4 separate regions of the Homo sapiens genome follow, and regions 2, 3 and 4 are each linked to region 1. Evidence: promoter capture Hi-C in 16 types of primary human blood cells and fetal thymus (Javierre and others, 2016). All regions are on one chromosome and are shown on one strand. The core of a region is centred on a gene start or on the middle of the fragment in contact, and the rest is flanking DNA. Distances in the headings are between cores, read along the strand shown. Region 1 holds the start of AUP1 (AUP1 lipid droplet regulating VLDL assembly factor). Region 2 overlaps HK2 (hexokinase 2). Region 3 overlaps MTHFD2 (methylenetetrahydrofolate dehydrogenase (NADP+ dependent) 2, methenyltetrahydrofolate cyclohydrolase). Region 4 overlaps SLC4A5 (solute carrier family 4 member 5).

Evidence for each region. The method cuts DNA at HindIII sites, captures the fragments that hold promoters and counts their contacts. A CHiCAGO score of 5 or more calls a contact.
Region 2: a fragment that was not itself captured here is called in contact with the fragment with the promoter of AUP1 in region 1 in 1 of 17 cell types (monocytes); the score reaches 6.7 in monocytes.
Region 3: a fragment that was not itself captured here is called in contact with the fragment with the promoter of AUP1 in region 1 in 1 of 17 cell types (total CD8 T cells); the score reaches 5.2 in total CD8 T cells.
Region 4: a contact is called between a fragment that was not itself captured here and the fragment with the promoter of AUP1 in region 1, in 5 of 17 cell types (naive CD4 T cells, total CD8 T cells, naive CD8 T cells and 2 more). The highest score is 7.6, in naive CD4 T cells.

The regions. Positions count from the first base shown.
Region 1 is chr2:74,525,122-74,532,536 of GRCh38, forward strand. It overlaps AUP1 (AUP1 lipid droplet regulating VLDL assembly factor), which reads right to left and starts at 4,585. Exons shown (of 12, transcript NM_181575.5): 1 at 4,459-4,585; 2 at 4,241-4,378; 3 at 4,011-4,161; 4 at 3,630-3,814; 5 at 3,296-3,368; 6 at 3,127-3,200; 7 at 2,819-2,885; 8 at 2,615-2,717; 9 at 2,350-2,469; 10 at 2,127-2,242; 11 at 1,820-1,938; 12 at 1,531-1,715. The coding sequence starts at 4,508. The coding sequence ends at 1,679. HTRA2 (HtrA serine peptidase 2) reads left to right here and starts at 4,812. Exons shown (of 8, transcript NM_013247.5): 1 at 4,812-5,391; 2 at 5,496-5,700; 3 at 5,790-5,984; 4 at 6,218-6,250; 5 at 6,476-6,581; 6 at 6,735-6,804. The coding sequence starts at 4,886. DQX1 (DEAQ-box RNA dependent ATPase 1) reads right to left here and starts at 1,110. Exons shown (of 12, transcript NM_133637.3): 1 at 1,015-1,110; 2 at 372-627; 3 at 1-81. The coding sequence starts at 608. It overlaps LOXL3 (lysyl oxidase like 3), which reads right to left. Exons shown (of 14, transcript NM_032603.5): 14 at 7,137-7,415. RefSeq lists enhancers at 4,029-4,858, 4,031-4,913, 5,369-5,498, 5,519-5,588, 5,619-5,698 and 2 more and a silencer at 4,889-4,978. The HindIII fragment of the contact is 3,652 bases long and covers 3,582-7,233 here.
Region 2 is chr2:74,870,403-74,877,817 of GRCh38, forward strand. It overlaps HK2 (hexokinase 2), which reads left to right. Exons shown (of 18, transcript NM_000189.5): 4 at 1,898-2,017; 5 at 2,874-2,969; 6 at 3,442-3,541; 7 at 3,864-4,047; 8 at 6,764-6,919. Among named protein-coding and RNA genes, the nearest start is that of LINC01291, 35 kb to the right of the region's middle. The HindIII fragment of the contact is 684 bases long and covers 4,152-4,835 here.
Region 3 is chr2:74,209,578-74,216,992 of GRCh38, forward strand. MTHFD2 (methylenetetrahydrofolate dehydrogenase (NADP+ dependent) 2, methenyltetrahydrofolate cyclohydrolase) reads left to right here. Exons shown (of 8, transcript NM_006636.4): 5 at 365-472; 6 at 1,622-1,714; 7 at 2,164-2,289; 8 at 4,502-7,415. The coding sequence ends at 4,665. It overlaps SLC4A5 (solute carrier family 4 member 5), which reads right to left. Exons shown (of 31, transcript NM_133478.3): 31 at 6,665-7,415. Among named protein-coding and RNA genes, the nearest start is that of MTHFD2, 15 kb to the left of the region's middle. The HindIII fragment of the contact is 2,871 bases long and covers 1,923-4,793 here.
Region 4 is chr2:74,264,238-74,271,652 of GRCh38, forward strand. It overlaps SLC4A5 (solute carrier family 4 member 5), which reads right to left. Exons shown (of 31, transcript NM_133478.3): 9 at 867-1,027; 10 at 1-62. Among named protein-coding and RNA genes, the nearest start is that of MTHFD2, 69 kb to the left of the region's middle. RefSeq lists an enhancer at 2,946-3,025. The HindIII fragment of the contact is 1,187 bases long and covers 1,939-3,125 here.

The DNA.
Region 1 (7,415 bases), core at 3,335-5,834:
AAGAGGGTAGGGCTGAGTAACAGTAACCTGTCCTTTCTGGAACCCTCTGGCCAGCGCAAACTCTGCACACCACTGAGGGATCTGGGATAGAAGTAGGGAAGGAGAGCCAGTGAGGAAGATGTAGGACTTCAGTCAGAAGTGCTCAGGGAACTATGGCCACTTTAATCTTTCCTTATTTGGGGAGTCCCCTGGTCTTTCACCAGCCTCCAGGGCCAACCTAACCCATCCCATCTCTCTTCGTTCACCTTCCTCATGACCCCACGCAGCCCAGTCCCCCCTTGCCCAGGGAAAGGCCACTTTCCCTTTGTCCTCCCTTTGTCCTCCCTTTGTCCACTCCCAGAATCTGCCTGCCCCCACAACCCCCACCACACCTGGGTGCTCTTGCCAGAACCAGGCTCCCCAGACACCAGCACCACTCCAGTGGGGTTACTCTCCAACTGCTCCAAGAAGGTAAAGCGAGCAGCCCAGATGGGCAAGGCTTGGCGCTGCTTCAGCAGCTCATAGTAGCGGGAAGAGAAGGGAAGCCCATCAAAGGGGTTCACAGCCAGTTCAGACTCCCCAGGACTTGGGCCATACTCTTCTGCTAGCCTGAGAGGCTGAGAGGTCATGGTGGCTCTCTGGCAGGACCTGCAGAAGGCAGAGCAGCCAGTAAGGTCATATTTGGTGACCGACACCATCTTCCCACCTCAGCCCTGATCCTTAACCTCTACCTTCAGTTGATCATGCTCTGGGGCCCACCCTTCCCAGCATTTCCTGCCAGGAAACAGTGCTAGGTATTTTGATAAAGGGCTACTGAGAGTTAGTCGACAGTCCCTATAGTCAGGTAGTAGAAATCTACCTGAGACTATTACCCCGTTGGCAGGTAGTAGAAATCTTACTTAGGCAGGGGTCCTCAAGGGCAGTAGAAATTATGTGAGACCTAGTAACCTGTGGGAAAGTCCTGAAGGGAAAAGGATAAAGAATATAGGGGGTGGGGAGAGGAACAGCAGAGTCACAGGGATCCTGGATTCAAACCTGCTTGCAGCTCTAGGACGTGTCAGGACGGCAGTCAGCTCCAGACCCACGTAGTCACCACCAACCCTGACCGTGTGAAGTACAAAGGTAAATTCCGGCTCTACCTCAGGGATGGGCTCAAACTTCAAATCCTGAAGCCTGCTTTTGGGGTGGGGCTATTTGCTCCACCTTATTTAACCTAGTCAGGAACCTATGGAAAACAGGCTCCAGCTACCACACTGAGCATGTGTGAACTCTATAGATGATGTGTAGTGTGCTTGTGAAAGGCATGCTGGGACTTGTAGTTTTGCAGCAGCTTCCTCCAAAACCTGGGCTGATCACCCAAGCTGGGTCTTCAGTTCAGTTACACTTCCTTAATTTATCACTCATCACTTGGCATGAGGAGGTGATTTTAGACAGTTGCAGTCTGACTACCCCCTTCAAATGTACGAGAAGACTCTCACCCCCATCCCCCGCAGCCAAGGAATAAGGAACCCACTCACAGGGCTTTTGAGACCGAGAGAGACAACAGATGCCTTGAATGAAAACCATGAATTTAATGTGACATTGGGGGAGCCTCATCCTTCCCTTTTTACCACCCACCCATCCAGCCTGTTGTGAGTTGGGTGAGGGCTGCCCCCAGTCTCCGTCCTGCGGCTCTGGGTGCCATCCTGTTCCTTTGAGCTCAGTCAGCCTCCTGGGCTCGTCTCTCTGTGAATCTCCTGTGGGACATAGGGAGAGATATTATTCAGGCTTTGCCGTAGTAGCTCCATAATTCCATTCTCCAATTTGCCACATCCTATTAATTGTCCTCTAACCCCCTCACCTTCTTGCGTATTCATATAGTGCTTGCTTGCGCTCCTGCAGGCTCTCCTGCCGGGCCCAGGAAGACTTGGCAAATGTTAGGGCTGTTGGCTGAGGGGTCACCGGGCCAGAGCTGGGAAACTGAGGTGATCACAATGTCAGAGGGCTTGCGGAGTCATCATCATTAAACACGCATCGAATGCCTACTTTGCAAGAGAGGCACTATGCTAGGGTCTCAGGATCAAAAAAGAAAGGTCAGGGATAAGGGAGTACATAGCCTGCCCCCAACTCACCCCAACACTTGGATCTGACCATTTCCTGGGTCTCACCTTGGAGGCAGAGGCTGTGGGTAGGGACTGAGTTCCCTTGGTGATGTCTTCAGGCATGAAAGCTACGGCCCCCTCAAGCAGATTAGTGATAGTCAAGTCTACACAGCCAGTCTTGGCTGGGGAGAAAAGAGAAGGGAGTCCACTCCCTACTTACTTTCTTCCTTCACAACCCACTTTTCCTCCCTGTGCCCATCTCCCAGTGTGGGGCCACCCTTTCCCATACCCAGGTCTCTCTGGATGACACCCAATGGCACATGGGGCAAAACTTCCTTGACTCTCTGAGCCAGAGTTGCCAGTTGCACATCAGGAGAAGGACCAGGGGAGGGAGGGAAAGAAGACTGGGCTGTGGAAAAAGGAAAAAAAGAAAAAAGAAATTCTGGTAAGTAGAGAACTAGAAGGAGAGGCTAACTAGCACAGAAATAGGGGAGGAATCACAGTAGGCCGAAAAAAAAAAACCCCAAAAGCTGTAATGTATAGAGACCACATACCTGACTGGGGGCGCAATCTGGGGTGTCTTTGTCGCTTCATGTGCTCTGCTTTGTCAGCTGGAGTGAGCCGTGTCCCTGTCTGGCCCAATTCCTTGGCCACCAGCTAGGGAGAATTGGAAGACTGGAAGTGTCAAGATCTCAAGCTTTCCTCCCTCTCCTCCTAAGCAGGGACCCCGCCTCCACCCTGTCTGTGCACCCGACCACCTGTTGTACACGGAGTGCAAACTCCTCATTCGCTTCCCCTAGTTGGCGATGAACAGGACGAAGCCACCTGCAAAGAAACAATCCAGGGCTATGTTGTGGGCACCCAGGGTAGAGGCTGTCACCATTCCCCACTTTGGTACCTCTTTGCATGGTGGGTGGGAAAATAGTAAATACTGTAAATACTTTGTGTTGCCTCTGTGGTAGAACCTTGATATAAAGATCTACAAATGGACAGGGCAGAGGCCACTAATTCCTTGACCTTGAGGTGAGCCTCTCCCCAGCGACCAAAATGTGAGGACAGTTAATACCTTACTTGATACACCGTGAAAGGGACGAAAAGTGACCACAGCAGTTCTGAGACCCAGGAGGCATCTGACACCGTCTGAGGGGAGGGCATGAGATGAGGCCTAAGCCAGGGCCAGGGATGGGAAATTTCCCCTTCAAGCCCCAGAGATTCCCTGTTCAACACACACTCACCACAGAGACCAGGGGTCTCTGAACTTGCAGGGTAAGAGGTTGTACCACATCTTGGATAGAAAATGGCCAGGAACTAGAAGAGGAAGGAGAAAGTAGGATGGGAATCCAGCCAGCCTAGTCAGCAGCTCACACCTGCCTTATAACAGGCAACTGTCAAACTCTACAAGCACATAATTGAAGAATGAAGGGATTCAGGAGAAAGAACTTAAAGTGGACAGAAAGGAAATGAACTGGAGATGATGGGGTCTAAGGGCCGAAGAAAGTTGTAAAAACTCAAGGGCCCACAAGCTTGACCACCTACCCAGCTGGCGCCCCATACCTGTGCTAAACCCACCTGAAGCGCAGGAGCCCCTCCCGGCCATTGGTGGCCTCTTCCTCAGGGAATAGCAGCAGAGGAGTGGGGGGAAGCCTCGTGGAAGCACAGAATCTCTTGAGTGACTCCACCAACTCCCCCCGCCCATTCATCTCCATGAAGCCCCGAGACCAGCACACAAAGCTGGGGGGACTATTGAGTAGAGGCTGGGAACCAGGAGAAGAGAAAGCAAGAAGAAAAATATTGAGGAAAATGAAAAAAAAAACTGACATGTTGGGTAGAGGATCGGGGTTAGGGGTAAGGCTCAGTATCCTCCATGGGGAACGCGAGTGGGGACAGGGGGGCCTTCAGCTGGGCCCCAGGGAACCGCCCCGTGGCGCTCTCGGCCTCGCTCTCACTCACGGTGCTACAGGTGGTAAGCAAATTGACTATGTTGTGGTCGAAAGGTGTCACATGGTTGGAAATGAGGACCCTGACACTGTGATCCCGGAGTCCGGAGTCCTCCTGCCGGGCCACGAGCCCTAGCACCGCACACATGGTCCGCACTACGAATCTGGGGACACAGGAGGTGGTGACTGTGTGGCCTCGGGCCAGACCCAGCTCTGACACTCCCCGAACGCCCGCGTCGGAACCTGCGAAGGACGCTGTCTGGCAGCGCGCAGCTGACCAGGAAGACGTGGATCCCGAGAAAGAGGCGCAGGACGAGGAGGCAGAACCCGACTGGCGCGTAGAGCAGCAGCACGAGCAGTAGGAAGCAGTCACCCGGAAGCCTGGGGGCGAGAGGCGAAGTGGTCAGGCGCCGAAGGCCGAGAGCACGCGGGGATCGGTCTCTTCCCGCCGGGTCTCTTACCGGTGCGAGTCAAAGAGCCGCTCCGGCCCCGGCCCTGAGGGAAGCTCCATAACTGCTGCTTCAGGAGCGCCCGGCCGTCGCCGCCGCCGCCATTTTCGCGCCCGGCCGCAGGGGCTCTTGGGAAGGCGGAGTCTTTGGGCATCCGCCCGGGGTGAGGGGACCCGAAGTCCTGAGGCGCGCCGGAAGGGCTAGCGGTCCCAGCATACCCCGCGGCCCCTTGGGCCGTCTCACAACTCGCGTCCGGCGGAGACCACAATTCCCGGCATTCGTGGGGCAGGGAGGAGTCGGCCTCCCGGAATCCTGGTCCCGGCGTGCACTTCTGAAGGACTTCAGGTACCGGCGTGCCCCGCGTCCTACTGTCCGCCTGCTCGCGTCCTGGGTGCCGCCTCTGAGTAGGGCGGGCGAGGAGGCAGCCAAGGCGGAGCTGATGGCTGCGCCGAGGGCGGGGCGGGGTGCAGGCTGGAGCCTTCGGGCATGGCGGGCTTTGGGGGGCATTCGCTGGGGGAGGAGACCCCGTTTGACCCCTGACCTCCGGGCCCTGCTGACGTCAGGAACTTCTGACCCCCGGGCCCGAGTGACTTATGGGACCCCCAGTCTCTGGGCCCGGTTGTCTGTTGGGGTCACTGAACCCCGAGCATGCCTGACGTCTGGGACCCCGGGTCCCCGGGCACAACTGACTGCGGTGACCCCAGATACCAGGACCCGGGAGGCCTCAGAGAACTCTGGAACCCGTTCGCGCGCGTGGCTGGCGGTGGCGCTGGGCGCTGGGGGGGCAGTGCTGTTGTTGTTGTGGGGCGGGGGTCGGGGTCCTCCGGCCGTCCTCGCCGCCGTCCCTAGCCCGCCGCCCGCTTCTCCCCGGAGTCAGTACAACTTCATCGCAGATGTGGTGGAGAAGACAGCACCTGCCGTGGTCTATATCGAGATCCTGGACCGGTAATGGTGGGGGTAGACCGGGAGGCACTGAAGCCACAGGCTGGAGGGCGGGCGGGTAGGAGGGGTCAGAGCCTCCTCTTATCTGTGCTTTCCCTCCATTTCAGGCACCCTTTCTTGGGCCGCGAGGTCCCTATCTCGAACGGCTCAGGATTCGTGGTGGCTGCCGATGGGCTCATTGTCACCAACGCCCATGTGGTGGCTGATCGGCGCAGAGTCCGTGTGAGACTGCTAAGCGGCGACACGTATGAGGCCGTGGTCACAGCTGTGGATCCCGTGGCAGACATCGCAACGCTGAGGATTCAGACTAAGGTGGGGGCTGGGGTAGGCCAGGTCTGGTTGGAGCTGCTTATTTGCTCGCATCTTCAGATGACAGGTCTCTTTTACCCATTCTCCCTTAGGAGCCTCTCCCCACGCTGCCTCTGGGACGCTCAGCTGATGTCCGGCAAGGGGAGTTTGTTGTTGCCATGGGAAGTCCCTTTGCACTGCAGAACACGATCACATCCGGCATTGTTAGCTCTGCTCAGCGTCCAGCCAGAGACCTGGGACTCCCCCAAACCAATGTGGAATACATTCAAACTGATGCAGCTATTGATGTGCGTCCTGATAGGAGAGAAATGACAAATGATGGGGGAGGGGGGAGAGGCTGTGTGGTACAAGCACCAACTGATATATGGTGGATGAGCCTATATAGAGCTTAGGCTGCAAAAATGTGGCCACTTATTCATGGGCTGAGAAAGAAGAGAATTTGGAGAAAGTACCTACATCCTGGTATGCCCCCAGACTTAGAATCCCCAGATCTCTTTCATGTTTTCTCCTTGTCCTACAGTTTGGAAACTCTGGAGGTCCCCTGGTTAACCTGGTGAGTGAGACATCCTTCCTTCCAAGAATCCCTGCCCCAGGTCAGTGTGGGAAGGGTAGGTTTCCCCTAATTCAAGGATGTTTGGTCAAGTTTCTGAGCAGTTCTTTGTTGGCTATCTCTCAATATCCAACCAGATCTCCCCAACACTTGCTGGTACTTTTGTTCGGGTGCCCCCATCCCCTACTATTTGTTTAGGCTAGGGAACTGGGGGCTGTATCCCTGCAGGATGGGGAGGTGATTGGAGTGAACACCATGAAGGTCACAGCTGGAATCTCCTTTGCCATCCCTTCTGATCGTCTTCGAGAGTTTCTGCATCGTGGGGAAAAGAAGAGTGAGCCTGCCTTATGGGGAAACGGGTTCCTTTAATGTGGTGGAAATAGGGGAAGGGCATTCAGTGGGACTTCCTGGAGGGTGGTCTACTGGGAGAAGAGGGCAGGGAAGGAAGGATGTAGCTGGGTGGGGCTCATTTGTCCCTCTGTCACAGATTCCTCCTCCGGAATCAGTGGGTCCCAGCGGCGCTACATTGGGGTGATGATGCTGACCCTGAGTCCCAGGTATGAGCTTTAGGGACAGTGACATGTAATGTGACCAGTGTAATCAGAGGGGGGCACCTCTATTGAGCTTTGTTCTCATTTCTGTCTTTATCTAAGATGAACTGTGTCACACTTGAAATAATCACAAGAGCTGTCTCCCTTCATCATCTTGACTTTCTTATCCCACTCCACTTTGTACACCTGTCACCAGATTGATTTCATCCTGTTACTGCTTTGATTTCAAGCCTTCAATCCATTAACTTGGCATTTAAGGGCCATTTTCCATCTGTCTGTAAATCAACTTTCTAGACCTGGCTGTAATACCTTCCTATATGAATACTCAGCCAACCTGATTTCCTACTCCCATGTTTTTTATTTATGCTGTTCTTGTTTTATATGGTTAATATCAGATCCATCCTTTTAGGCTCAACTTAAGTTCTTTCCCCTTAAAGCTTCTCTTAGTATTCTAGAATGACATTAGTGCTATTGATTTAACACTGTTTGTCATTTGGTGCCCTCATGTGGTGTACATCTTTTATGTACATGTTGCACTTTATTGCTAGAAGACAGAAAGTGAGTTGCCATTGTATTTTGTAGTACCTAGCCCATGTCCTGTCCATATATTTATCAAT
Region 2 (7,415 bases), core at 3,244-5,743, 350 kb after region 1:
TTTCTCTACCTTCCTATGTTAGGAGCGCAACTGGAAAGAAAGCAGTGATCAGAGCTGGGGGAGGAGAAACCATTTTGCTTTTCCCCCTTCTAACCCCCACCTCCAGTCTTTGATGATTGGCCTTATCTCTTTGCACAACTTCTGCATCTCCCTTTTTTTTTTTTTTTTTTTTTGGGATAAAAACTATTTGTACTAAAGATCATTTTGACTAGAGTGCCAGGAAGAAGGTGCTGGGAATTTGTTTAATATACGTATCATATAATTCATCTCTAGTCACCTTCCCGACAGAACAGAATTTGCTGAATATATCCCTATTTTCATGTTAAAATACTTGAACTCTGTTCAAGGGAGTTGGCTCACCTGCACTGGTGATCCCCATGGCAAGAGAGCCTTGTCCTCCCCAGCCTTTGCTCTTGAAAATGTTTTGGTTTGGAGGTCGAAGGTTCAGCCTCAGCTGTTGTTAACTTTGCATGGGATCAGACAGAGGGACAGACAGAATGGATGTGGGAAGTTTAGTTAGATCTGGCCATCTTCCAGATTGGGGTGGCCTTGTCTTCCTGGGTCCCTCCTGCTGACCATACCCTAGGCATCAGGAGATCCAACAGGTCTGTCAGTTTCCCTCTCCCAACCTCTCAGTTCCTTTATAAATGTAAGAACTTTCTGTGGTTTGGCATAGTGGTTCTCAACCTACTGCTCCAGGATCACCTGGAGGGCGGAAGGCTTGCTAACAGATGGCTGGGCCCCACCCCCAGAGTTTCTGCTATAGTCGGTCTGTGGGGGCGGGCCTAGACCCTAGAATGTACATTTCTAACATGTTCCCAGGTTAAGGGAGTGAGGTTGCTGTTCCAGGAGCACACTTTGAAAAGCCATGGTTTAGTCGAATCTTCTTGCACCTTCCTGGATAGGAAAAGGATAGTTGACCTCTTATCCACCTTGGCTTTTAGATTTTGCCACGTAGTCAACCTGGCCCTTGGAATCTGCCCAGCCTCTTTGGCCTCTGCTTACTTTTTACACCTGAATGCCTCTAGTCTCAGCCTTCACCTAAAGGGTCAGCAGCTTCTCTTTGAGCGTGTAGGGTGGGGCAAGAAGGACGCCAGGGGATTGTGGGCTTTGGGGCTGATTGAAAGCCTGGCTTATTATGAATACAGCTTTTTTAAGGCTTAGGAGCTCTGGGTCCTGCACAGTGAGTGCGTGCGGTCACGGTTGTGAGGCTGCTCACCCACAAAATGTGATTTATTTCTCAGCGCTCTTCATGGACTTACTGGATGTTCTGTTTAGAAAGTTAGAAAACAAAGATAACTTCTTTGAATTGCCCTCAGGAGATTAGTTTTCTAGAATGGAGAAAAAAATATAAAAATTACTTGTTTTTGTTAAGTTGGTTCATAGAATGCCAACAGAGAATGCTGTCCCTGCAAACCACCCCCCACCCCATCACCAGAGACAGGGATACTAAAATACTTCTTGGCAGCAAGATGGGCTGGCCTTTGGTATGATCGTCAACTGGGCTTCCATGTCAATGGGTTTCTGACAGGGCCACCAAAGAATGTTCTGTTCCCCGGGCATGAAGTGACTTTCTGATTAATGTTGGCCATGATTTCCCCTACCTCACAGGGTTATCTTGACAGCAGTTTAGAAAAATGGCTTAAGTAGAGGACAATATTTAGTGGGCAAAAACTAATGTTAAGCCTTTATGTATTGACTCATGTACTCCTTTTCATAACTCCATGAGGACAGGTCCAGTTATAATTCCCTTTTTGTAGGTGAGCAAATGAAGATATCAGAGGAGATATGGGTTTTGCACACATTCAGCTAGTTACGTGCTGAGCCTGAAGTGCATGCCCTTAATCTCTATGCTGTTCGACCTCTCTGCTCACCACCCTGTGTCATGTATCCTTAGCTGTTTGACCACATTGCCGAATGCCTGGCTAACTTCATGGATAAGCTACAAATCAAAGACAAGAAGCTCCCACTGGGTTTTACCTTCTCGTTCCCCTGCCACCAGACTAAACTAGACGAGGTAAGATGGGCTCCTCAGACACTTGTTGCTTCACTCTTGGGGCTGGGAGGGCTGAGAGGGACTTCTGAGCCACCTGCTGTGGTGGTGGTGGTAGCACTGGAGGATTGTGGAGATGAAGTTCTGCCTTTCTGGGTGACTGTGTATGTCGATGGGGGGGCTGGTGAAGAAATCTGGGGGGTTGGGAGTGCCCTTTATCACCCTCTCTCCCACACACATTGCACAGTATCCTTATCCCCTCCACAGAAACAGGAATGAGAAATCAGGAACTCCCCAGTCTAAAGTGTTATGATAAAGACCCTTGGAAGAAAGATACTTGGAGAGTTAATGATGTAAGGACACAAGTACAGTCATGTATTGCATAACAATGGGGATATGTTCTGAGAAATGCTTTATTAGGTGATTTCACTTATGTATAAACATCATAGAGTGCACTTACACAAACCTAGATGGTATAGACTACTACACACCTAGGCTGTATGGGACAGCCTGTTAACTCCTAGGCCACAAATCTGTATAGCATGTTACTGTACTGAATGCTATAGGCAATTGTAACACAGTGATATCTGTGTATCTAACTAGGCAATAGGAACTTTTCAGCTCTATTATAATCTTGTTACCACCGCAGTATACACAATCTGTCACTGACTGAAACATTGTTATGCGGCACATGACTGTGTCTTATAGTGCCAGTTGTCCTGAGTTTCTTTTTCCTAGGCTAGCCAGGAAGTAACACACAAATTCAATCATGACTTTACCCCAGTGGCAGAGGTCTCTGCTAATGACGGAGGTTTGAGGGGTGTGGTGTGAGTTTCAGTTTTAGTGGGAAATCAATATTCACTTCTTGGTCCCTTTCCAGAGTTTCCTGGTCTCATGGACCAAGGGATTCAAGTCCAGTGGAGTGGAAGGCAGAGACGTTGTGGCTCTGATCCGGAAGGCCATCCAGAGGAGAGGGGTGAGTGGGGTGGCAGGAGCTTGGGGTCTGTGGGCTTTTCTGGGTCCACCCTGAAGACTCCCTGAGTGTCCTTGACTCATCATTGTTTGCTTACGTGGAGCTTAAGGAGAGTTCTCTTTTCCCTGACACATGTACTCAATAATTTTGTATGCGATCTGCTGCTTTGGGGGTTTTTAGATTATCAAATGGATAAATAATCTTAGCCTTGGCACAAGAAAAGCTCTTTAGTTCTTAACCTGAAGAAGACTTGAATGTGATTTCCAAGTAAGAAAGTTGGAATGATGTTGACATGGGAGTGGAATGGCTCAGAGAGAGAATGAATTAAAAGTCTTATCACAGGAGGAGTTATGGGGAGGGAGGGGGGAGAGAGAGAGAAGGAGGAGGAGGAGGAGGAGGAGTGATATATAGCTGGTGTTAGGAAAGTCGCCCTCTGTGATGATGAAGGTCAGAGCCCTCCCATTTGTCTCCACAGGACTTTGATATCGACATTGTGGCTGTGGTGAATGACACAGTTGGGACCATGATGACCTGTGGTTATGATGACCACAACTGTGAGATTGGTCTCATTGTGGGTGAGTGAACACCGTGCATGAAGGGCCCGTGCTGGCCAAGGGATGGGGGTGTGGGCTGGAAAGGGAGAAGGGGCCCATGGGCTGGGTGTTCCTTTGTAGTTCATATTAGAAGATAATGGTCCAGTCACTTTGGAGAGCCGAGCAGGGACTCATGGAGTTGGGGGTGGCAGAAGATTAGACCATGTATTGTGATGCCCCCAGAGTCTGCAGTGAGAAATCCCAGCCATCCTGGCCGGGCAGTCTCGGGACAGTAGTATAAGAGGGAAGAGGGGTGGGAAGGGGCCGGAGCAGGCGTGTGCATAGCCGTCCCTTGTTTTGGCAGGCACGGGCAGCAACGCCTGCTACATGGAAGAGATGCGCCACATCGACATGGTGGAAGGCGATGAGGGGCGGATGTGTATCAATATGGAGTGGGGGGCCTTCGGGGACGATGGCTCGCTCAACGACATTCGCACTGAGTTTGACCAGGAGATTGACATGGGCTCACTGAACCCGGGAAAGCAACTGTGAGTAGGCCCTTCCTGTGCGAGTGGGCTTGGCGGGGGCCTGGAGCTGAGTCTGGGGCTGGTCGGGGCCAGGGGGTTGTTTCTTTACAGTCTTACATCCCCAAAGCTTGCCAAGGTGGCCACTGGTCATAGGAATGTCTGTGACTATAAATTGCTGAGAGGATCTAAAACAGAGAGCAAGCGGATATACCAGATTATAGCTAATAATGTGTTTCCTTCACAGGAGTCATTTTGGAAGGTTCTATTCTGAGTGTAAGTGGGTGGCCCTGCTCTTTCTTTCCACCTTCTATTTGTAAATTGTCCATGGGAACTGTGAGCCACCTAAGGAAAGTTGTGTTGAGGTGGCCAAGATTGGGGTCTCTGAAAGCTCCTTTCATAGCTCCAACTCCATCACCACCCAGAGGACAGGCTGACAGCTGGCTGCTCATTGCTGCTCCCTGGGGTCCCAGGGCCTCCTGCTGCAGCTGCAGGCAGACCCATGGCCCCTGGAGACATTGGCTGAGGAGCTTCCTTGGCCTCCTTCACTTGGACCTTGGCCCAACTATGTCCTGGGATGGATTGGAGGAGGGGCGTCTAGCATTTTGGATCCTGAATATTGTATTCTCCAGCCTGGCCTGCCTTTGTTTTTAGTTGCTTTTATCTCTTACAAAACCTTATTTCACCCTCACAAACATTTGCCAAATGTGCGTGTGAAAGATCTTGAAACAGGGATTGCTTCAAGGTCTGAAGCAGTTGCAAAATATTTTGAGCAATACAGATCATCTCTGGTCTTGTGACTGTTGTAGAAAAGCTTTTCGTGCAGATCTCTACTTGGACAGGAAAATTGAACCCTATAAATCAAGTCAGTGGTGGGTAACCCAGGAGAGTCCTTGCTTTCGTTTTTTTTTTTTTTTTTTTGAGACAGAGTCTCTCTCTGTTGCCCAGGCTGGTGTGCAATGGCGCAATCTTGGCTCACCGCAATCTCTGCCTCCCGGGTTCAAGCGATTCTCCTACCTCAGCTTCCTGAGTAGCTGGGATTACAGGCGCCTGCCACCACGCCCAGCTAATTTTTGTATTTTTATTAGAGACAGGGTTTCACCATGCTGGCCAGACTGGTCTCGAACTCCCGACCTCAGGCGGTCCGCCCTCCTCGGCCTCCCAAAGTGCTGGGATTACAGGCGTGAGCCACCGCGCCCGGCCTGAGAGTCCTTGCTTTGTCAAAGCATGGTTTATTTATCTAAGTCACAAGCTTGTTTCACATGTTGAAATGAGTCCTTTACTTGAAATTTCTGAGGATCATACTGGTTGTGTCTGCCATGGCTGATGAGAGGTTTATGAGCTGAAAAGTCACTCAGTGCCTGCCTCCATGAATGAGGCACACCCAAGTCATTCCGAGGAACTAAAGGCCCTTTCAAATGTCAAAAGACAAATTTGCCAGCCAGACCATGACAGCACACCCCCGGCTTATCCTTTGACACCCACCAAATTGTCATCCATGGTAGCCCTGAAGTCACTACAGACAATTTTTGTCCCCTCTAATATATTTCCAAGTAAGTATCTTCCAAATGTTGACTGGAACAAAGTGTTTTTAAAAACTAGAATAAAAACTTAGCAACACGGAGTTCCTTACTGTTGAAGCCAGGCTCCCATCCACGCTGGTTTCCTTCTCCTGAAGCTCTGCCTGTGTGGGTGCACTAACATTTAAAATGCGCGCTGTCATCTTCACAATTTTGCCAGCTCTCAGTTAGCCCTGATGCTGCTGTACTCGGCCTTGGGTCTTGAGCAGGCTGCTTCCTGGAGGCCTGGGTTTCCTCTCGGAAAGGTAACCTTGGAATCCCTTCCACATCTCAGTCCTGGGCCTCCTCCTCGCTGGGGCTCATCCTAGTTAGTGGCAGCAGGCCCATGTGCCTCCTCTAAGACACAGGTTCTTTCTCAAACACCCAGAAATGGGCCTTTTGTCAAAAAGAATTATCACCAGGGCTTGGTTTCCTCTCAGTTCTAGTCAGAAAGACCAATTATGAAAGAAAACAGTGCCACCTAGTGTTAAAATTAAATCACCGGACCGCACTGCTGGTTTGGGGGCCGTCCCCTGCCTTTCTAAAACATCTTGTCACCTGCCTGCTTAGAAGCCTGTTTCACTCCCAGACCCCTGAGACCTGTCATTTAGAGCTCGGAGCCCAGTGCAGATTCCTCTATCCCAACCTGCCTTTATAATGTTGCCCCATCATCCCCTGCCCCAGGTGGTTTTCACACCATTTTCTCTGGAGCCCATGAACGGCTTGCAGGGGTGGACAGTATGAGCTGATGAGTTTCTAGGCCTGTGCTACATATCTAATCAGATCGCCTTTTTTCTCTTGTAAATAAATATTGGGCTATGTAAGATATTAATTTTAAAAATGATTTCCTGGCTAGAGAAGAATTTTAAAGATTACCACCCTACGCATAACTTTACCTAAAATACAGGCTGTTCCAGAATGTTCCATACTCCCTGTGTGTTTCATTTGGCTGCTTAAGTTTCATTTATTCTTCTCCATAGGTCAAGGCCCATCAGCCTGCAGGGACAACCCAAGCCAGCCCCTCTGAGCCGTCACCTCTCCACGTATCTTACTCCTGGGCCGTGCTGCACACATTAACCCTTAGTTGTGAAGTTGCACGTGTGCGCATCTTGCTTCAACAGGGAAGCTATGAGTACATGGGCAGTGGGGACTTTATGTTTTTGGTTTGTGTCTTCCGGCAGGTTTGAGAAGATGATCAGTGGGATGTACATGGGGGAGCTGGTGAGGCTTATCCTGGTGAAGATGGCCAAGGAGGAGCTGCTCTTTGGGGGGAAGCTCAGCCCAGAGCTTCTCAACACCGGTCGCTTTGAGACCAAAGACATCTCAGACATTGAAGGGTGAGCTTCTGGCCAGCCCCCTCTATTTGCTGGATCACCACACGAGTTGACGGGTAGTTGGGGAATGAGGAGGGGGCTGTACCTTTTGACTCTTCAAGTATAGACTGCAAGAGGGTCTCACATGACGTGGACCATGGCGGGCCTGTGGCTTCACTTCACTTACCAGTCTCCACTCTTGTCGATTTCGATTGTGATTGCTACCAGTGACTCATGGTACTGGGAACGGTGGTTGGCCTCCATATGCAGGGACTTGGGCTGTTGCACTGGGTTTAAAGCTGGAGGACCCCAGAGGGCCCCCGAAAGACTTAGCTGCATCTGCCTCCTTTTCCTTCTCCTGAAGCTCTGACATCTGATTCCCTATTGGCAATTCTCAAAAAGGACTCTGTCATGACCCCTGCTTCATAATAGAAAGCTAGGTCTTTGAATTGGCCAGAGATATAGCTACCCAATTAATTCTAATAAGCAGAGCTGGGGCCTGCATTTTCACAGCCCAGCA
Region 3 (7,415 bases), core at 2,108-4,607, 320 kb before region 1:
AAGAGTCAGAGGTTTCATCATGCTGCCCAGGCTGGTCTCAAACTCCTGGCCTCAAGCAATTCTCCTACCTTAGCCTCCCTGGCCTCAAGCAATCCTCCCTCCTGCTGGGATTACAGGTGTGAGCCACCGCCCCAGCCCTCAGTGAAGGAAATTTAAGATTTGATAGTGGTGACAGTGCACATTCCTGTAACATTTTGTAGCCTGTAGTATGCTTTCTCCTGTTTTCTTTTAGCCCTTATTATGTGTAGCAAGTTACAGCTCCAGTTGACTGATGAGGCAAAATTGGGTTCATGTTCTAGGCCATCTGACTTTGTTTTCCTTTGGACTGGCACTACTTTTAATGTCAATACATATATTTTTATAGGCATTCCAACCCTAGGGAAGAATGTGGTTGTGGCTGGAAGGTCAAAAAACGTTGGAATGCCCATTGCAATGTTACTGCACACAGATGGGGCGCATGAACGTCCCGGAGGTAAGGAAATTGCTTTCAGGGAACACTGTCCTTTTTTCCCCATGTAAGAACTTTCAGAAGCCATCCTGTGCATGTTTGGAAGTATTAACTCTGTTATACTTTGTATTTGTTGAAATTTTGTTAACAGACAATTCAGGGAGTAACCTTTGTAGAGAAGCTGCACCCAGTGTCACCTGAGTTTCTTTATTATTCATTTATCATGTAACTAGCTTCAGAAATAAATTTAAGTTTTGAGTATAAGCATGGTTGTAGGCAATTAGAAAATTTCAGCTATAGCTTTGATAGCTGGAGCTAAGGAGCAATTCTTATTCAAAGATACTGTGTCATTTAGTGGAAAAAAATCTTTAGCCGTTGCAAAGGATTGGATTGGTATGACTGTAATGTGTCCTGTCAGGTTCTGTTAATTGGTTCTAAGGTAAAGCCTCGTCAATCAGTTATCACATAATTATTGTAATAATGACCTTACATGATTATATCAGAAATAAAGGCAAAACTATATACTTTCAACTATCTTTCAACATACTTAAAACAACCTTGAGTAATTTTAGTGATATTTTGCTTAGAAAAGGTAAAATTCTTGAAAGGCTTTAAAAATAGGATGAATAAATTTAATTATATGACTCAAAACAGTCGAGCTGGGACCAATGGGTTAAAGCTATATGATATTAGGTATTAATTTTAAAAAAGTAAATGACAATTAGCTGTTCAGAAAACATGGCACAAGCCATTAAGTCAGTTTTTTTTTTTTTTTTTCCTGGAGATGGAGTCTTGCCCTGTTGCCCAGGCTAGTGCAGTGGCACAATCTTGGCTCACTGCAACCTCCACCTTCCAGGTTCAAGTGATTCTCATGCCTCAGCCTCCCAAGTAGCTGGGATTACAGGCATGCGCCACCACGCCCAGCTAATTTTTGTATTTTTAGTAGAGACGGGGTTTCACCATGTTGGCCAGGTTGGCCTCGAACTCCTGACCTGGTGATCTGCCCACCTCGGCCTCCCAAAGTGCTGGGATTACAGGCGTGAGCCACTGCACCTGGCCGTAAGTCAATTATTTTTCAGAGATGTTGAGTTTCTACAATGACTTGACTAGTTGAGACCTAATCCAATCCCAGCTTTGTGTCAGAAATCAAGACATCTATTTTTTTCTTTCTAGGTGATGCCACTGTTACAATATCTCATCGATATACTCCCAAAGAGCAGTTGAAGAAACATACAATTCTTGCAGATATTGTAATATCTGCTGCAGGTAAGAACACAAGGGGGATGGAGGGAAGGACTTCACCTCAGAAGAGGAGGTTGTACCCCTCATCTTAGAATTCGCCTGCCTAGCTGCTATTCATCATTCCCCTTGTAATGATTCTTTGAGCTGCCTACAAAGATGAGGATAGAGTTGTGATTGGAATACCGGTTTCTGGCAGTCCATTATAGTCTAGATGGGTGAATGTTATTCCTAAAGCTTCAAAATATTTATATTAATATTTACTGTATAAAGTTTAAATGGTTCCTTTTGTTTCCTGTCAGGAGCCAAAATAAAAAAATAATAAAAGTAAATAGTTCCTTAGTTAATATTTTTAACAGGTTTTAATAAAACATGTTGATTAGTTCTTCAGGGTCTCTTGAAATTGAAGTTAGACAAGAATCTGACAGGTAGACTGTTTTCAGTACTAAGTTGATCTTTCCTTTCTCCATTTCCAGGTATTCCAAATCTGATCACAGCAGATATGATCAAGGAAGGAGCAGCAGTCATTGATGTGGGAATAAATAGAGTTCACGATCCTGTAACTGCCAAACCCAAGTTGGTTGGAGATGTGGATTTTGAAGGTAAATGGTGAAATTTTATTTTTAAAAATGAAATCAATAAATACTACCTTTCATGGACATTTAGGATAGATTATTTACTTTTTTTTTTTTTTTTTTTTTTGAGATGGGAGTCTCACTCTGTTGCCCAGGCTGGAGTGCAGTGGCGCGATCTCGGCTCACTGCAACCTCTGCCTCCTGGGTTCAAGCTATTCTTCTGCCTCAGCCTCCCGAGTAGCTGGGACTCCCAAAGTGTTGGGATTATAGGTGTGAGCCACTGCGCCCAGTCAGTATGCTTTTCCCTCCCTCTCTCCTTCCCTTCCTTCTTTCTTTCCTTCCTTCCCTCCATCTCTCTCCCTTCCTTCCTTCCCCTCCCCTCCCCTCCTCTCCCCCCACCCCTTTCTTCCTTCGTTTCTTTCTCTTTTTTTTTTTTTTTTTTTTTTGAGACAGTCTCACTCTGTCACCCAGGCTGGAGTGCAGTGGCACCATCTCGGCTCACTGCAGCCTCCACCTCACAGCTTCAAGCGATTCTTGTGCTTCAAGCCTCCCCAGTAGCCAGGACTACAGGCATGGGCCACCACGCCCAACTAATTTTGTGTATTTTTAGTAGAGACGGGGTTTCACCATGTTGGCCAGGCTGGTCTGGAACTCCTGGCCTCAAGTGATCCACCCGTCTTGGCCTCCCAAAGTGCCGGGATTACAGGTATGAGCCACTGCACCTGGCCTTAGTAGGCTTTTCATAAGAATTAGAGAAACCTTTTTAAAATTATGGCTTTTCTAGAATTATTTTAGGTGTTTTATCATAGTGATGGAGAGCAGTTATAAACTTTTCAGGGAATTGTTTTTTTCCTTAGACTTATTTCATAATTCAAGCAATTTCTTGACTTTTAACAAGTTTGAAAATTTGATGAAGTGATTTTTCTAAACCATGGAGTTTCCCAAAAAGTGTTAGAGATTTCTCATTTTCACACTGAGAGATCACAGGCCTAGAAAGTTAAAATGGTCCAGGAAAAAACCATACCCCTGAAATACTAGAATATACTAGTAGATTTCTTCTTTCAGTTCTGTTTTTTTTTTTAAGAGGCAGAGTCTCACTCTGTTGCCCAGGCTGTAGTGCAGTGGTGTGATCTCTGCTCACTGCAACCTCCACCTCCCAGGTTCAAGTGATTCTTCTGCCTTAGCCACCCAAGTAGCTGGGATTACAGACATGAGCCACCATGCCGGCTAATTTTTTGTATTTTCAGTAGAGATGAATTTGGCTGTGTTGGCCAGGTTGGTCTTGAACTCCTGGCCTCAAGTGATCCGCCTGCCTCAGCCTTTAACAGTGCTAGGATTACAGGTGTGAGCCACTGCACCTGGCCTCTCCTTTCAGTTCTTAAGATAGAATGTTTATCCGAGTTTTATGCTGATAATCCTTTTTTTCTTTCCTTTTTTTTTTTTTTTTTTTTTTTTGAGACAGGATCCCTCTCTGTTGCCCAGGCTGGAGTACAGTGGCAGGATCTCAGCTTACTGCAACCTCTGCCTCCTGGGCTTGAGCAATTCTCCTGCCTCAGCTTCCTGAGTAGCTGGGACTATAGGCACATGTCACCTCACTTGGCTAATTTTTGTATTTTTTGTAGAGATGGGGTTTCACCATGTTGCCCAGGCTGGTTTCAAACTCCTGGCCTCAAACAATCTCCCCCACCTCACACCCTGCCTCAGCCCCCCAGAGTGCTGGGATTACTGGCATGAACCACTGTACCCGGCCTATGCTGATAATCCTATTCCTAGCTTTCTGTTTTTATTAAAGCAGTCAAACCCATGCCTAGGTATGTAAGGATTTTCACTTTAACATTAGGTTAATTTTTTTTTTAACTTCTCACTTTTAAAAAATTACTGTGCTTTCTGCTTTGGACAAATTATACTTAAAATTAAATTAAGAAAATGCTATAGGCAGGTATTGAGGTAATGCTTATTATTGTTATACTTACAACTCCCACACAGTTAACCTACTAGATATTTCTTTAATAGATTTCTTTATAGGTTACTTAGATGTATAAATATTCCTTGAACAACTCTGTATGTGCATGTTATTTTACTAGTGTGTTCACAAAACCTTGAATGATGTAGATGTGATTTTTGAGTTTTATGCTTATGTATGTTACTTTTTCCTTGCATGCTTGTTTAATAATATATTAAAGTACACACATGTCCTTTGCCATAACTAAAGCAGCCTGCCTGTCTTGTTTCTATGTAGGAGTCAGACAAAAAGCTGGGTATATCACTCCAGTTCCTGGAGGTGTTGGCCCCATGACAGTGGCAATGCTAATGAAGAATACCATTATTGCTGCAAAAAAGGTGCTGAGGCTTGAAGAGCGAGAAGTGCTGAAGTCTAAAGAGCTTGGGGTAGCCACTAATTAACTACTGTGTCTTCTGTGTCACAAACAGCACTCCAGGCCAGCTCAAGAAGCAAAGCAGGCCAATAGAAATGCAATATTTTTAATTTATTCTACTGAAATGGTTTAAAATGATGCCTTGTATTTATTGAAAGCTTAAATGGGTGGGTGTTTCTGCACATACCTCTGCAGTACCTCACCAGGGAGCATTCCAGTATCATGCAGGGTCCTGTGATCTAGCCAGGAGCAGCCATTAACCTAGTGATTAATATGGGAGACATTACCATATGGAGGATGGATGCTTCACTTTGTCAAGCACCTCAGTTACACATTCGCCTTTTCTAGGATTGCATTTCCCAAGTGCTATTGCAATAACAGTTGATACTCATTTTAGGTACCAAACCTTTTGAGTTCAACTGATCAAACCAAAGGAAAAGTGTTGCTAGAGAAAATTAGGGAAAAGGTGAAAAAGAAAAAATGGTAGTAATTGAGCAGAAAAAAATTAATTTATATATGTATTGATTGGCAACCAGATTTATCTAAGTAGAACTGAATTGGCTAGGAAAAAAGAAAAACTGCATGTTAATCATTTTCCTAAGCTGTCCTTTTGAGGCTTAGTCAGTTTATTGGGAAAATGTTTAGGATTATTCCTTGCTATTAGTACTCATTTTATGTATGTTACCCTTCAGTAAGTTCTCCCCATTTTAGTTTTCTAGGACTGAAAGGATTCTTTTCTACATTATACATGTGTGTTGTCATATTTGGCTTTTGCTATATACTTTAACTTCATTGTTAAATTTTTGTATTGTATAGTTTCTTTGGTGTATCTTAAAACCTATTTTTGAAAAACAAACTTGGCTTGATAATCATTTGGGCAGCTTGGGTAAGTACGCAACTTACTTTTCCACCAAAGAACTGTCAGCAGCTGCCTGCTTTTCTGTGATGTATGTATCCTGTTGACTTTTCCAGAAATTTTTTAAGAGTTTGAGTTACTATTGAATTTAATCAGACTTTCTGATTAAAGGGTTTTCTTTCTTTTTTAATAAAACACATCTGTCTGGTATGGTATGAATTTCTGAAATTCTGTCTTCCTATGACTCCTAGTTGTGACCTAACCAGTTTTTTTCTCATTTAATCAATGTAGCTATTCCTATATTCAGTAACACTTACTTCTATAGCCTTAAATAGATAATTTTTTTTCTTCTATTTTTTTTTTTTTTTTTGTAGAGATGGGGTCTTGCTATGTTGCCTGGGCTGGTATTGAACTCCTGGCCTCAAGCAATCAATCCTCTTGCCTCAGCTTCCCAGAGGGCTGGGATTACAGGCCTGGGCCACCCACACCCAAACAGAGGTTTAAAGAGCTTTGGAGAAACCAGCCTCGTCCTCCAGTCTCTTTGTTTGTTTGTTTTGAGACTGAGTCTTGCTCTGTTGCCCAGGCTGGAGTGCAGTGGCATGATCTCGGGTCACTGCAACCTCTGCCTCTCGGGTTCAAACAATTCTTGTGCCTCAGCCTCCTGAGTAGCTGGGATTACAGGTGCATGCCACCATGCCTGGCTAATTTTTGTGTTTTTAGTAGAGATGGGGTTTCATCACATTGGCCAGGCTGGTCTCAAACTCCTGACCTCAAGTGATCCACCTGCCTCGGCCTCCCAAAATGCTAGGATTACAGGCGTGAGCCACTGCACCTGGCCTGTCCTACAGTCTTATATCACAACAGGTTGTGCCAAGCTAGGAGCTTAATCTGTAAAATACTTGAGGCAGGGATAGGTTTGTCTGTTTTGGCTTTTGGCTTTCATGCGAGCAGAAGTAGCTCCTGCTCTAGGCAGCTTGAGGCAGAAAGAGAAGAAACAATTGAGTTGACCTACCTCCGTCCTCGTTCTTCTGCCAGCTGGCGTTATTCTTTTGATAGTTCTCTGGAGTTTAAAGAAGTTTAGATAGTTTGCTGGAGATGTTTTTGTAAGTGACGTATAGCTTATGTCTCTAATCCATGCCTGCTTACCTAGATTATTAAATGTGGAGCAAGATGACCAGACAGGATTAAATTTTATTGAATTACAGTTACAAGTGGAAAAAATGACTGACTTACTGCATGGAGAAGTATTATGTCAACCTGTTAAAAGCTATGGAAATTAAAATGTTCATGTATATACAAAATATAAATGACATGTAAGGTAAAATTACAGTGATCAATTTACAACAAAGAAATTAACAGTAGTTTTCCAGCTTGTTTGATTAATCAAGCAGGTTTACTCTTGAATCCATAGCATTTCTACAATTTAATTTGGACAAAGTTCTATTCCAGATCAGCCAGGTTTTAAAACTGAAATGTGTTAAGGGTGGATTGTTAGCTTCCCCAGGATTGGTGTGGATGATAAATACTTTTTTTAAAAATTAATTATTATTGTTTATAAGACATGGATTCCAGCTGTCTCCCTGGCTGGAGTGCAGTGGCATGATTATAGCTCACTGCAGCCTTGAACTCCTGGACTTAAACGATCCTCCTGCATCAGCCTCTGAAATGGCTGGGACTACAGGTGTGTGCCAGCATGCCTAGCTAATTTTTAAACATTTGTTTAGAGATGGGTCTCACTATGTTGCCCAGGCTGGTCTTGACCTCCTGACCTCTGCTGATTCCCCCCACCTCTGCCTCCCAAGTAGCGGGATTACAGGTGTGAGCCACTGTGTCTGACAAGAATTTATACTTAAGCATAGGAGATGGTTCTGGAAATTCTAAGAAATTCTGCTCTCAGTAAGAGTAGAGGTTTGGAGCTTTAC
Region 4 (7,415 bases), core at 1,282-3,781, 260 kb before region 1:
GACCCTCTCCCGGAGCTCTGGCCGCAGGAGACCATCCTCAATCTGCTTCTCAATGACATCATCTGTGTGGAAAACATACACACCTCATCCCTGTGGGACAGAACAGCTCCAGGGTATGGAAGTCTTCAGTTTCACCTGTTATTAGTGGGATTAAATGTGGCAGAGGGGGTGTGGAAGTACTCCTGGCTTTGCCACTAGCTGTGGAAAACTGGGCACATCACCAACTCTTGGCCTCCTCCTGTTCAAGGGCACGTGTGTGTGTGTGTGTGTGTGTGTGTGTGTGTCTGCTCTTTCTGTCAATGTTCTTATGAAAAGTGAAATAAACAGTACATATGAAACTGCCCCAGGAGGCACAAAAGTACTGTGTTCAATGGTTTTAGTCCTAAAATGAACTCTTTTTAGAAAAGTATTTTGGGCAAAATACTTCTGGCAAAATCCAATGTGCTAGAACAAAACTCACAAAAATTTTTAGGGGTGTTAAGGCAAGCCAACTCCTCCCTTCGACACACCACTAAATGACAGCTAATTTCCTAAAGATGAATGATGACCCATTTTACCCTGAAAAGAAACAGGTTGTCATGGCAAGAGGTATCTCTGACTATGCAAGAGGCCCTCTCCCCTTTTACCACATTTCTGGATGGCATTTTGGAGGATGGTCTTTTCCTCTCTACTGGAGGTCTACATGGTACTGAAACTTGGAGTGACTATGATCCTGCCCTGGGAGCAACAGAGTCAAAGCTGGTCTCTGCAGAATCAGGTGTCAGAGACGGGCCGTCACACAGACTTGAGGGCAGGCATGAGGTCAGGGGAGCTGCCCTGGTTTGCAGGGACCACAGGAGAGATGCACACAGTGGCCCCTGCCTCACCTATGATCTGTGGTAAGGAGCCACTGTCCAAATCCAGCAGCACCGTCCCCGTCTGCAGGCAGGTACGGAGCTCGAAGAGGCTGTGCAGGGATAGTGTGGACACGTGGGGCTTGCTCCAGCGTTCGCCGCCTTCCTCTACCTTTTCTTCAAACTTTATCCACCTGGAAGGGTAAGGATGGGGCTCAGTGTGGCCAGGGCCCTCAGGAGGAGGCCTCACCTGGGTCTCCCCAAAAGAGGGGTGTCATGTGGGTTCATGCTATGTATGTGGTTGTGGTGTTGGTCCCAGACTCACAGGCAGAGGATCTCTTGGGGATCCCCTCATTTGTCCCCCACTCCTCCTGATACTGTCATGTGAAGGAAAGTGGCATCCAGAGAAGTATACAGGGGCATGAGGGATCTTCTGGGAGTGATGGAAATGTTCTAAAATTGGATTATGGTGACAGTTGCACAATTCCATACATTTTCTAAAAATCATTTACCAGTACACTTACAATTAGAGAATTTTAAGTTATTCTAGAACAATAAAGCTGTTTTTTTAAAAAGCCTCAACTGGAACCTGATTATCTCAGGCTGTTCACACATGAGTGTTCAGTGTGGTTTGCTGGGAGCAGGAAAAATGTTCCCTGACGAAAAGTATTTCTCCCTGAGTTCCCCTGCAAGGTCTGAGGTTTCCATGCTTTTCACTCTTTTTGCCTCTGAAAGTTCAGGTAAAAATTCACATGCCATCCAGGGAAGGAAAGAAATTAAACCAAGGATGTGTAGGGATCTGTCCTTTCTAGAAGACTTGGAATCATGGGCTGGGTGTTCAAGTAGAAAGGCCTCAGATAGTGCCAGGGGAGCAAGGAGTCCTGGCCGGAGACACCTAGCTCCCCTTTGTAAGATGTCAACCACAAATGCATGGGTAGCTCCAATCTATTGCAACTGAAATCCCAAGGGAGGACTTTTGGACCATGACTATCTAATTCTAAAGTTCCTCTAAAAAAGGTAAATGTAGGAGAATGGTGAGGAAAGTTCAAAAATGAAGAGAAATGGGGATGGGGCATGCCTTAGCACATATAGAAACTTGCGGAGAAGCTTCAGTAATTAAAGCGGTGTGATTCCAGGCCAGATATAGACAAGGGATCAGTGGCACAAGAGTCCAGAAACAGACCTGTATATCCATGGGAATTCAGGTTTTTTGTTGGTTTTTTTGAGACAGAGTCTCCCCCAGGCTGGAGTGCAGTGGCATGATTTTGGCTCACTGCAGCCTCGACCACCTGTGCTCAGGTGATCTTCCCAACTCAGCCTCCCAAGTAGCTGGGACTACATGCATGCACCATCACGCTTGGCTAATTTTTGTATTTTTTGTAGAGATGGGGTTTCATCATGTTGCCCAGGCTGGTCTCGAACTCCTGGGCTTAAGTGATCAGCCCACCTTGGCCTCCCAAAGTTCTAGAATCACAGTCGTGAGCCACCACGCCCAGTCACGGAATTAGGATTTTGATGAAGGAGTTGTTTAAAAGACAACCAACCTAAAAATAGAAAGTTAAATCCCTACTTTTCACCAAACACAATACTAAATTCTTCATAGATTAAAGTCTAAAGATAAAAATAAATCTATAAGCAAAAATGCAAATATACTAGAAGAGAATATAGGAGAGTATTCTTATATTCTTGGAGAATATTGTGGAGAAAGACTTCCTAAACAAGGTATAAAACCATAAAGGAAAAAAATGGACAGATTTGATTGCACAAAACTAAAATAAATGAAAACTTCTATATAGTAAAATAACATATAAATCAAGTTCAAAGAAAAGTAATGTACTGAGAAAAATATCTGCAACAAAGAAAGCATCAAAATACTAATATTTATAACAATGCTCCTTTGAATTAATAAGAAATTAACCAATTAACTCAAATTATCCAATAGAAAGTAAACAATCCTGAGAAGAAATGAAGATGGCCAATAAACATATGAAAAGATGCTCAACCTTACCAGTAATCATGGACTTTTAAATTACTACAAATGAAATAACATTCTTCATTTTTTAATACTGGCAAAAGTTAAAAAGATTGACAACTTCCTGTGTCAGTGAAAACATGGGGAGGTGGCCTCTCATCTGCTGCAGGTGTAATGACACAGCCTTCCTGGTGTGGGCAGCCTGTTTCAACATTCAGTGTGCATGCCTTTTGACCCAGTGGTTCGATTTCTAGGAAACGATCACAGGAATATAATTACACTGCCACACCCTGTAATATGTATACAAGGACGCTCGATGAAGCTTTGTCTGTTAGGCCAAAGAACTGGAAACCACCAGGTTTTCAGTAGAAGCATGATTACATCAATTCTGTATGTCCATGTTGTGGAATATCCCCCAGAAATAAATAAAAAATATGTGGGTGAACTCACATACTGACAGGACGGACACTACCATCCCATTTTATAAAAAAGAAAAACACACTTGTGTGTGTGCACACATGTGTCTGGAGAAAGCAAAAGTTTTGGAGGGATCCATGTCAAATGGTTAACAATGATTACTTTGAGCAGAGGAGTAGGATTGTTGTTGGGGCGGGATTTAAGACTTTCACTTTATTGGGGCGAATTAGTGTAGCAAGAGTGCAGTCTGGTTAGGCTGGGTGAGGTGGCTCACGCCTGTGATTCCAGCACTTTGGGAGGCCCAGGTGGGTGGATCGCCTGTGCTCAGGAGTTTGAGACCAGCCTGGGCAACATGGTGAAACCCTGACTCTACCAAAAAACCCAAAAAATTAGCTGGGCATGGTGGCACACAGCTGTGGTCCCAGCTTCTTGGGAGGATCACTTGAGCCTGGAAGGCAGAGGTTGCAGTGAGCCGAGATGGCACCACTGCACTCCAGCCTGGGTAACAGAGTGAGAGTCCGTCTACATTTTTTTTTTTTTTAAAAAAGAGCACAGTCTATGAAGCAACACTATTAGGTTTTGAATAACAGCTCCATCATTTACTAGCTGAAAATCTCGAGTAAGTTACTTAATCTCTCATCACCTTTGATTTCTTCAGTAATAATAATAATGTACAGCAATTAGAGCAGTGCCTAGCACACAAGATACACTCTGTTAATGTTAGCTATTAAGTTAAAAATAAAGAATATTACTTTTGTAATTTTAGGAACAATAAAAAAAGAAGAAAGCAAAGTCATTCAAAGCTCCTCCAACCAGGAGGCATCATGCTGATGTCTTGATGGTTGATATTTTGGTAACTGCCATTCTAGATCTCCTCGTGCATGCATGCACATATGCCTGTGTTTGCATTAACTGTACATTAATGGCACCACAAGGACCTTAAGGGTATAGTATCTAATGGACATCCTTTCATCTCTATTAGTATTAACATCATTCTGAAGTCCTTCTAGTATTCCACTGTCTGAATGTACCATAATTGATAGGAACAGTTCTCAACTGGTAGACATTCAGATTATTTCTAATTATTCTTTATTATTAATTAAGGCTGGTTGGAACATCCTTGGTTCCTGCTCCACAATTTCTTTAGGATAAACTCTCAGAAGTGGAATTACTGTGTCTGCACATTTTTACATTTATAACAAGCATTACCAAACTGTTTTCCAGAAAGCTTATGTCAGTGCCCACTGCCACCAATGAGATCTTACATTTCCCTAAAGTCTCCCAGACTTTGGTATTTTCATTCTTTTTCACCTTTGTTCATTTGGTAGTTGAAAAATTATCTCACATTTGCACTCTTCTGATTACTAGTGAGATTGAACATCTTTTCCTTCATCAGATTTCCTCTTCACGTAACTGTATATTTTGCATTATCTATGTTTAACACCTTCATTCCATACATTTATTTGAGACAAGTTAACCAGGCACCTGGTGGGATCCTGGGGAATCAGATGGACACAGAATGGGGAGATCTAATTAGAGAAGGACTGGGAGGTGAAGACCTGAAACATGGGGGCTGGAGCCAGAGACCAGGCAGACAAGTTGTAGCTGACCTTTTTGTGGAGAAATCTGTTTGGGAAATATCATTTAAATTATGGCAGATCCAAGACTATGTGATATCGAAAGTAAGATGTTTCTAAAAGGTATATTAACATAAGAGTTTACAAGGAATAGACCAAAGGATAAGTTCAAAATTTTTTTTTTTTTGAGACGGAGTTTCACTCTCATCGCCCAGGCTGGAGTGCAATGGTGCAAGCTTGGCTCACTGCAACCTCTGCCTCCGTGGTTCAAGTGATCTCCTGTTTCAGCCTCCTGAGTAGCTGGGATTACAGGTGCCTGCCACCAGGCCCGGCTGTTTGTTTTTTGTTTGTTTGTTTGTTTGTTTGTTTGTTTTTTAGTAGAGACAGGGTTTCATTATGTTGGTCAGGCTGGTCTCAAATTCCTGACCTCAGGTGGTCCACCCACCTCCGCCTCTAAAAGTGCTGGGATTACAGGCGTGAGCCACCGCGCCCGGCCAGTCCAAATGTTTTAGTTGAGAGGATGCTCAACTTTTCTTCCTGAGGATCGACCTCCTATTCAGCTTGCCTTTTATTGTTTTTTTTTTCTCAAAAATAATACAAAAGATAAACTGAACTGTCACCCTGCTCCCAAAGACTCTTTTGCTACTCCATGGTCTTACCCACCCACCTAAAGGTGTGATGTGGCCCAGTGCATGGGGCCAGTTGAGTGGGTTGCTGTCTTCACTGTCTCACAAACATCCTAGGCCAGACAGTCTCAGGCAGCTCTCTCCCCTGACATCCCATTCTTCAGTCTTCTGCCCATACAAATGCAACTCCACCTGAAGGAGTGATAAGAGCAATGCTTCCTCTTTGAAACATCCTCTACTAACTCCAGATAGCAGATAGCAAAGACATGCAGTCCTCTCCACCTCTCAGGACTTCAACTATTTGTACTGTGTTAGGCATACACCAAACATTAACCCCATAGACACACAGACAAGGGCGATAACCCACATGAGAATAGCCTGCATAAACACTAAATTACTTGTCTCCAATTTTAAGCCAATGCCAGAACTAGACTCTGCTACCAGAATCCAGAAAATTTGATTTAAGAAATTCCGGAATATGAGACCATTTAACTAGGGACACCGCTCTAGTCCCCTCTATAACTATTTTGGGAATCCAGATGTTGAACCATTAAGCTTGCTACCTGGAACTTAATTTTGTGTTTTCAATGGCTACAGCTAGAAATTTAGCTCACTTTCACCTTGAATGGAAAAGGAAACATGGAGGACCAAAGATCCATAGCAATGGTTTTCAACCTTGGCTGTCCATTAGAATAACTTGGAGAGATTTATAAAAATACCAATGCCTGGGGCTGGGCGCGGTGGCTCATGCCTGTAATCCCAGCACTTTGGGAGGCAGAGGCAGGCGGATCACGAGGTCAGGAGATCGAGACCATCCTGGCTAACATGGTGAAACCCTGTCTCTACTAAAAATACAAAAAATTAGCCAGGCGTGGTGGCAGGCGCTTGTAGTCCCAGCTACTCAGGAGGCTGAGGCAGGAGAATGGCGTGAACCCGGGAGGCGGAGCTTGCAGTGAGCAGAGATCATGCCACTGCACTCCAACCTGGATGACAGAGCGAGACTCCGTCTCAAAACAAAACAAAACAAAACAAAAACCAATGCCTGGATGGTTACCCCACCAGGAGGGTGACCCTGCCATGGAAACTCCCGGGTTATCTGACTGCACCCTGTGGGTTCAGGAGCCCCTGCTCTGTAGGTACATAGAATGGTGTGACTTAGGGATAGTTCAACTTATATGGGGTCCCAACGCAGGCAAACGTAGCTCACATGGATCTGATTCTCATTATACAGCAGGACATGGCCTCTTTCCCTTAGAATGGCTCCAAGAACACTAGCTGAAAGGGTCTCCTTTCTAGCACAGTCATGCTATGCTTTAGTTTCTCTGATTTTATAACTGAAGTCCATTTACAGTACATATTCTACTACACCAGTGTGCCTCAAACTCTAATGTGCATGGGGATCTTGTCAAAATGCAGATCCTCATTGAGCAGGTCTGGAATGAGGTCAAAGATTCTACATTTCTAATAAGCTCCTAGGTGTGCTCATGCTGCTGGTCTGCAGATCACCTCTGAGATCATGTAGAATGTCCTCTTTCCTCTCTGTTTTCCACTGCCCAGCGAGAATGCCCCTTCCTCCACAAAGCCTCTGCCAGTTATTCTGCTTATTTCTCCTATAACACCCTAGGATGGTTCTCAACCTGAAGCACTTTAGAAACCACTGTTCTAGGACAGTGATTCTTAAGCTTGCTTGCATATAAGAATACCCTAGATGCCTTTAAAATCTTCATGTCTCAGTCATATCCTAGACCAGTTGACATCAGAATAAAAACGGGTGGGATCCAGGCAACTCTGTGCTCCAGACTATCCTAGGTAAAGTTTCTAACTTCTTAGGCTCAGAGCCTAAAATAATTAATTAATTCAGGCTCAGTGCCTAAATTAATAATTAATTGTAGCCAATCATGTTTTATGATTGTTTTGGTATATAACAAATGCCAAATATACATTAAGCTTTTTGAAGACAGGTGCCATTTCTTCCTCTCTGGTGTCCCCT